2 separate regions of the Homo sapiens genome follow, and region 2 is linked to region 1. The links are contacts of gene promoters, found by promoter capture Hi-C in human tissues and cell types (Jung and others, 2019). All regions are on one chromosome and are shown on one strand. Each heading gives the region's core, a stretch centred on a gene start or on the middle of the fragment in contact. The rest is flanking DNA. Distances are from core to core; before and after follow the strand shown. Region 1 holds the start of IZUMO3 (IZUMO family member 3). Region 2 has its middle 79 kb from the start of IZUMO3.

The links. Contacts are between HindIII fragments. The study calls those that stand out against the background at their distance.
Region 2: a fragment that was not itself captured here is called in contact with the fragment with the promoter of IZUMO3 in region 1 in 5 of the 25 tissues and cell types used here (H1 embryonic stem cells, IMR-90 fibroblasts, dorsolateral prefrontal cortex and 2 more).

What each region holds. Positions count from the first base shown.
Region 1 is chr9:24,544,350-24,547,883 of GRCh38, reverse strand. IZUMO3 (IZUMO family member 3) reads left to right here and starts at 1,987. Exons shown (of 7, transcript NM_001365008.2): 1 at 1,987-2,460; 2 at 2,598-2,672; 3 at 2,823-2,912; 4 at 3,124-3,141. The coding sequence starts at 2,235. RefSeq lists an enhancer at 2,338-3,534. The HindIII fragment of the contact is 4,602 bases long and covers 1-2,658 here.
Region 2 is chr9:24,465,081-24,468,614 of GRCh38, reverse strand. No RefSeq gene overlaps it. Among named protein-coding and RNA genes, the nearest start is that of IZUMO3, 79 kb to the left of the region's middle. The HindIII fragment of the contact is 6,574 bases long and covers 1-3,534 here.

The DNA.
Region 1 (3,534 bases), core at 738-3,237:
GTCAGAGGATACTCTTTGAACTGTCTAAGTGAAGGTATGGATCATTGACTGGAAAATATCTATAATGCATATCTTTTCTTGAAGCACAGTTTGTTCTCATACCTTGCCACTTCTCTGCCAAATTTTTTAGCCCCTTTAGTTTTCAACTTTACTATCTAGAGTTAATTTAATCCCATTAGCTCACTTGCCTTCAGACCTCAGCATGTGAAAATCTTTTGGGAAATCCTCTAAAAATGAGATCATCTAGCCAAGGGAATAAAAAAAAAATCTGAGCAGAGATATGCTAATTTAAACCATAAATCAAGTAATCTGTATTGGCCTTCATATTTTGACTTATCAAATTCCAAGAGATAATTTTCTGTGTTATCCCAGCAAGTTGTTGTTGAGAGGCAGTAAAATGTATAGGGTTTGGAACCACACAAGACATGAGCTTGAACCCTGAACTCATACTCTAAATTATTCTTCCAGCGAGGATTCTTTTACATCTCTGAGTCTCAATTTCTTACCAGTAACATAGAAATGACAATCTCCAAAGGATTGCGCGCCATGAGAATTTGTGACTACCTGAAATGTTTAGCACAATGTCTGTCACATGGACTTGGTAGACGTATAAGTAATGGTAATTCTTTTAACTTCCCGCACAACATTCCACTGTGATCACCCCATATCTTAAATATAAATTCTACCACTAACCCTGTAGATTGCCAGTGTTTCCTGGTTTCCAGAAGGTCACAGCCATACAGGCAATGTATTAGAAAAGAGGTAACCAGTGCTCTTAAGAGTCTGAAAAGCAACCTCAATTTATTCAAATAACACAGAATATTTTTATTCAAAGGGCCATTGAAAGGAGAACATGTTTATTTGGACATCTTCCTTGTAGGTGGTCTGAGAGGGAAGCCCATGATAACCACTATGTTTTTATATGTTACATACTTTGCCAGTATTTTAGAATGCACTTGTTAAAGGATCTGAACTTTATTGGATTCATCACTCAGTATTCCTCAACTATTGTTTCTAGTATCTGACTCCACACTCTCTATAAGAAGAATGCTATAAAAAGATTAGAAATCACCAGGCACAGTGGCTCATGCCTGTAATCCCAGCACTTTGGGAGGCCGAGGCGGGTGAATCACCTGAGGTCGGGAGTTCAAGACCAGCTTGACCAACATGGAGAAACCTCATCTCTACTAAAAATACAAAATAAGCCAGGCATGATGGCACATGCCTGTAATCCCAGCTACTCAGGAGGCTGATGCAGGAGAAACACTGGAACCCGGGAGCGGAGGTTGAAGTGAGCTGAGATCATGCCATTGCACTCCAGCCCGGGCAACAAGAGTGAAATCCCATCTCGAAAGAAGAAAAGAAAAGAAAAAAAAGAAAAGAAAAGAAAAGAAAAGAAAAGAAAAGAAAAGAAAAGAAAAGAAAAGAAAAGAAAAGGAGAAAGAAAGAAGGAAGGAAGGAAGGAAGGAAGGAAGGAAGGAAGGAAGGAAGGAAGGAAGGAAGGAAGGAAGGAAGGGAAAGAAAAGAGAAGAAAGCAAGAAGAAAAGGAAAAGATTACAAGTCATGTCTAGAAAATCATCCTAGTGATAAATGTAGCCTGAAATATGTTACTGTCTATTAAAATTGCCAAATATTATTCTAGATAAATGCTCACTCCTTTATTCTCAACAATACTGCCACCAGTATTTGTCAACAATACTGCCCCAGTAGGGACCGAGACCCGCAAGAAACTCAATATTCTTGGCTTTTCTTACCTCTAATGTAGAAGCAGAGTTTGAGTTAAGCAATCTCTCAGGTTCTATAGGATCACTTCCATAACCCATCTCTGATGATAAACATCTCTGAAGGTCAGGAGGGGGTTTAAGAGTCTCATGAGGATGCAAGTCAGGGAGAGGGCTAAAGAAACACTTTTTCTGAGACATCTCCCTGCACAGAACTCTGCTTGTGTGAGCTCAAGGCTTCTCTATCTCTTGGTGTTCTACACTCAGAACTCAGGTATCCGCTCCCCAGCTGGCAGTTCCCTCTCCTAGAATGAAGGATAATAGTCAGTAAACAACTAAAGATCATTAAACTAAACAACTAAAGATTGCCCGATAGTGGGATGGAAACAGCGGGAAAAGTGGAGTCAGACTATCCAGAACCAGGCTCTCATTCCCGGATTTTTGAAGGAAAAGGAACTAAGTGAACTAGTTGCCAGGACAACCTGCTGTCGGGGAGCGGGGGTGAAGAAAGAAATGGGTGACCTGTGGTTATTCCTGCTCCTGCCCCTCTCAGCCTTCCATGGAGTCAAAGGCTGTTTAGAATGTGACCCCAAATTTATAGAGGATGTTGGCTCCTTGCTGGGAAATCTGATACCTTCAGAAGTCCCCGGCCGAACTCAGCTGCTTGAACGGCAGATTAAGGAGATGATTCATTTAAGCTTCAAGGTCTCCCACAGTGACAAGAGGCTTCGGGTGTTGGGTGAGGGAAGCTTGAGTTCCTGAGAGTCCAGGGGCTTAAACGGAGAAGGGAGGCAAGGAAGAGAACACCTGGGTCTACATAACTTCCTGCATAGATGTAATTATTCCCCTACATGTACCTTTACTCTCCCTCTCTAGCTGTTCAGCAGGTTGTTAAGTTGAGAACATGGTTGAAGAATGAATTTTATAAACTGGGCAATGAAACATGGAAAGGTGAGGTACTGTTTCAATGTTAAAAGTTTGTATTGCTCAAGCAAGCCTCAGAAAATTTGGCTGGGGAAAACAAAGATAAAAACAGACATAATTAACTTCTGAAGGGAAGAGCTACTTCTATTTTTTGACACCCCTTCCACTCCCTCTTAGGTGTCTTTATCTATCAAGGCAAGCTTCTCGATGTCTGCCAAAACCTGGAATCCAAACTGAAAGAATTACTAAAGAACTTCTCTGAAATTGGTAAGTAAAACTTTCTATATAACAGCACTGAAGTTATATGAAGGGAATAGAAAATGCGGGATGAGGGAAGAAATGCAAGTTCATAATAGAGTTATTTAGAATGGGTGGAGAGGTAACTGGAACTTAAAGGGTAAACAAAGACTACTTGGGTATAAATATGGCAAACTGTAGCTGGTTTTAAACTCATTAGAACTTTCTGATTCTCTTCTAGCTTGTTCTGAAGATTGCAGTGAGTACAGTACATGTGACGCCTTGAGGTTTCAGCCCATATTTTCCCATCTCCTTTGCTCTATATGGCCCTATCTCTCCCACCTGTTACACTGGGAAACCAATTCCTAGAGCTGTGGTTACAAGGGGTAACGTCAACAATACCTGATAACGAAACCTAGCTCATGAAATCTCAGACACCCCACATATTTTTGAGGTACTAGGAGGCCTTCTAACATATGGTTTACAACCCATTGCCCCAGTATAAGCTGAGGCATCCTTTTCCCGCTTTTTCCTGGAGATCAGACTTACAGATTTTGATCCATCAAGAAACTTGATTTCTAGGAGAAGAAGAAATTCACAGCAATGCAAACTTGAGAGTCCTGGGAATGCTTGAGATCAAATCCTCCACACT
Region 2 (3,534 bases), core at 306-2,805, 79 kb after region 1:
ATATCTTCAAAACACTGGAGAAAATTTCTGTACTTAGTGTCGCTGTTTTCCAATACAAAGGTCTAATTAACAATTTCTAAATTTCTAAAAACAAGCCAAAACTTGTTTCAAGAAACAAGCCAAATTCTAAAAACAAGACCAAACTAAATAATTTTATAAATGTTTCTTAAAAATTTTATAATTAATAATTTCATAAATAAAAGACATGTAAAGCAACTTGCCCTACCTGTTATCAAAACTTATGAATACACTACATAATTTGGAGTATAATAATAGCACAGGGTTAAGCACGCAAATGGAACAAAGCTGACACAATAAAACCCATTTATGAAACAAGGATATTACATTTTTAAAAATGTAATTCACCACTACTTTGGGAAAAAGTGAAGAGTATCATAACACTGTCTTTTGAAGAGGTTTTGAAGCAAGAGGAATCCCTGTACACTGCTAGTGAAGAAGTCAATTGGTTCAATTGCAGTTGGCATTATTTAGTGAAGTTGCATATAATCAAGACCAAGCAATTCTATTCCTATATTCTTAGAGAAATTTGTGTACCCATTCATTCAGATATGTGCAAAAACATTCAAAGATGCATTGGTCATGATAATAACACCTCAAAAGAACCTAAATATCCTGTCACATGCAGAACAGGATATTCATAAATAAAATATTATCCATCCAGGGAGTGAAAATGAATGCACTATAGCTATAAGCATCAATGTAGAAAAATCTTAAATGTTGAATGAAAAAAGCAAATTGCAGAAAAATACAAGCATTATGAGATTAAGTAAAATTTTTAAAACAGAGAAAATTAAATAACATACTGCTTAAGAATACATGCATATATGGTTAATTACAAAGGAAAACAAATCATTATCATAAAATTAAGGAAGTTATTGTTTCTGCTGGGAAAACGGGGAAGATGATTAGGAAATTCACAAGGGATATCAAATTTTCTCATATCGTTTTGTGTCTTAAGCGAGGTAGGAGATACACAGAGGTTTAGTTTATTGTTACACATTAAATTGTATGTGTAGTGTTTATAATTTATATGTTATTATTCTAAAAGCATTTTTTAAAGAGTTTACTATTTGGTTTGAGTTGCCCATGTATTTTCTATTTCTTCTGTACTTCGAAATTGCAAATCATGATACAGCATATAAAAATAGATTAATTGTGTATTACTTCTCAAATATATGACTGTTATAATTTCCACTTAAAATCAAGATTCAATATTTGAAGGCATTTAAAATACAAACTTCTTAAAATTTTACTGACCCTTTAGCTGCATTGCATTACTAATGATGAAATATGCAGATACCTGTAATTGTATATTTCTAATTCTGAAACTTTGTCAGTTACATATAATAATGTACCATGTAGCTTGCTAAGACAAAAGCTCTACACATTACAATATATTTTTGTTCCTGAAATTAAAGATGAGGAGGATTTATTTGTAAAAATGATTATAGAATTAATATACCCTAAGGCAATCTAACAAAACTAGCAATTCTAAACTCTTCCCTCATAGTCCAGACTTTTCTGTTTTTCTTACCCATTACCTTGGAAAAATTGACAACCTCAGGGTTGTCTACAACCACTGGGTGGTTGTAGCCCAAAGAACTGTTTCCAAAAAGAGAATTTTAGTAATAATAGAGGATCCACTCACCACCAATCAGGATTTACATATTCATGTTTCAATTCATGAAAATTATTACTGAAGCAACGTTCTGTGTGTGTGCATGTGACTATGTGTATGAGTGCACTTTATATTAAACCACAAGGACGTTGATCAGGACTTGACTTTTACTGAGAAAAGGCAGCTGGTAAACATTGTAGGCTTTGGATCCATGGAGTCTCTTTCATTACTACTCAACTCTGCTGTTCTAAAACAAAAGCAACTATCAATAATTCATAAATGAATGAGTATGGCTGTATTCTAATAAAACTTTATTTACAAAACTAGACAATGGGCTAGAATGTAACCTATTACCCTAATCTAGATTATTATCTAAACTTATCACTTTGCTAAAAATGTAAATGGATTATGTGTGAATTATGCATTGATTGGCTGCTAAATAATTTCAACTAAACACTCTTGAGTTAATTGAGCCTTTCACTCACCCTATTCCAAAAATGATGTAATCTTTTAATTCCTCTGACACAGATAGTTCTTTCCTAATTCCTGGCTGTCACTCACGAGACTAAGTGTTCTTTCTAATGAAATGTTCTTTCCTAATTACTTTCTTAAATCTGGGTGCTCATTATTAAGCTTTTGGTTTGAATATTACCAACGACAGCTTCATAGTATCCTCTCATTCTTTAAAAGACATATGCATGAGTTTTTAATCGTCTAATCTTTTCCCCTACTAGACTATAAGCTCCATGAAAACTGCTTACAAGATCCAGATCTCCAAACATTTTGCAATGCAGAACACTTAATTTATGCTTTTTTAGCCCCTCTAAAAGATAAGGTCTTGGTTCCACGTTCTACTTCCCTACACTTTCCTTCTATCCCCCTGACAAAAACTTACTTATCTGTCAGAATTTAACTCCAAGAAGAGTTCTTTCATTTAGCTGACCTACTACCCAAAACCCTCTATTCAATTTCTTACTCTCTCCTTTGGAATCATTCCTGATGCCAACACAGGCTGTCTTTTACTGCTCTGACATACTTGCTTTTCTGTTAATTCAGATTATTTTCTAACTTCTTCCAGGGGCTCAGATCTTGATCCACTCATCTATGCAGCCCTAGCACTTGGCATACTCTCTGTCACGTGAACAAAAGAAAAATGGTCTCAAACCTCTCTCAAGGAAGAAGTAGGCATTCCTGATAACATGCTTCAGCAATTTTATAATAAACTTCAACAGAATTATAAATTATTTAACAGAATTAGCTTTCTGGGAGACTAATTACACAACCCAGCCAATCAGCTCTCAGACAAAAGCCTAATCTTTGACAGAACGTATGCTGGTTTTCGTATTTAGTGTAAATATTACTACGTAGTCATTCTACTTTCTTTGAAAATGTTCCTACCTAGAATGAGTCTTTGAATTGGCCCACTAGGGGCCTTTACCATTACAGTAAAATTGCAATGATGTGATTTTAACATATCTTAACTAAATGTTCTGAAGAATTTCTCAGCAGAAATTCTTGGTAAGATCTCAATAAATATTTGTTGAAAAAATTAGTAACATCCTTCTCATAAATACAACTATTCTGAATGTACCTATGTTCTCTCTTAAAAAAAAACTAGGAAACACATACAAAAAAAATGAGAAAAATCTGCTAAAGTTGCAGAGCTATGTACTGCATACTCTATGGCCATGATAAGAGATTATTCTTCATTATAGATAGAAGCATTAATTTACAAATGACCCATGCTCAGCAGCATAAAACCTCATGCCAGTGCTTACAGAAAACTCTAAATGTTCAACTTAAATTCAAAAAGCATACCAACTCCAATTCCTCTATTAACTTTACCACCTTGTGAAATTATTCTTATCAATATTTTAATTTCAATGGGTTTGAAT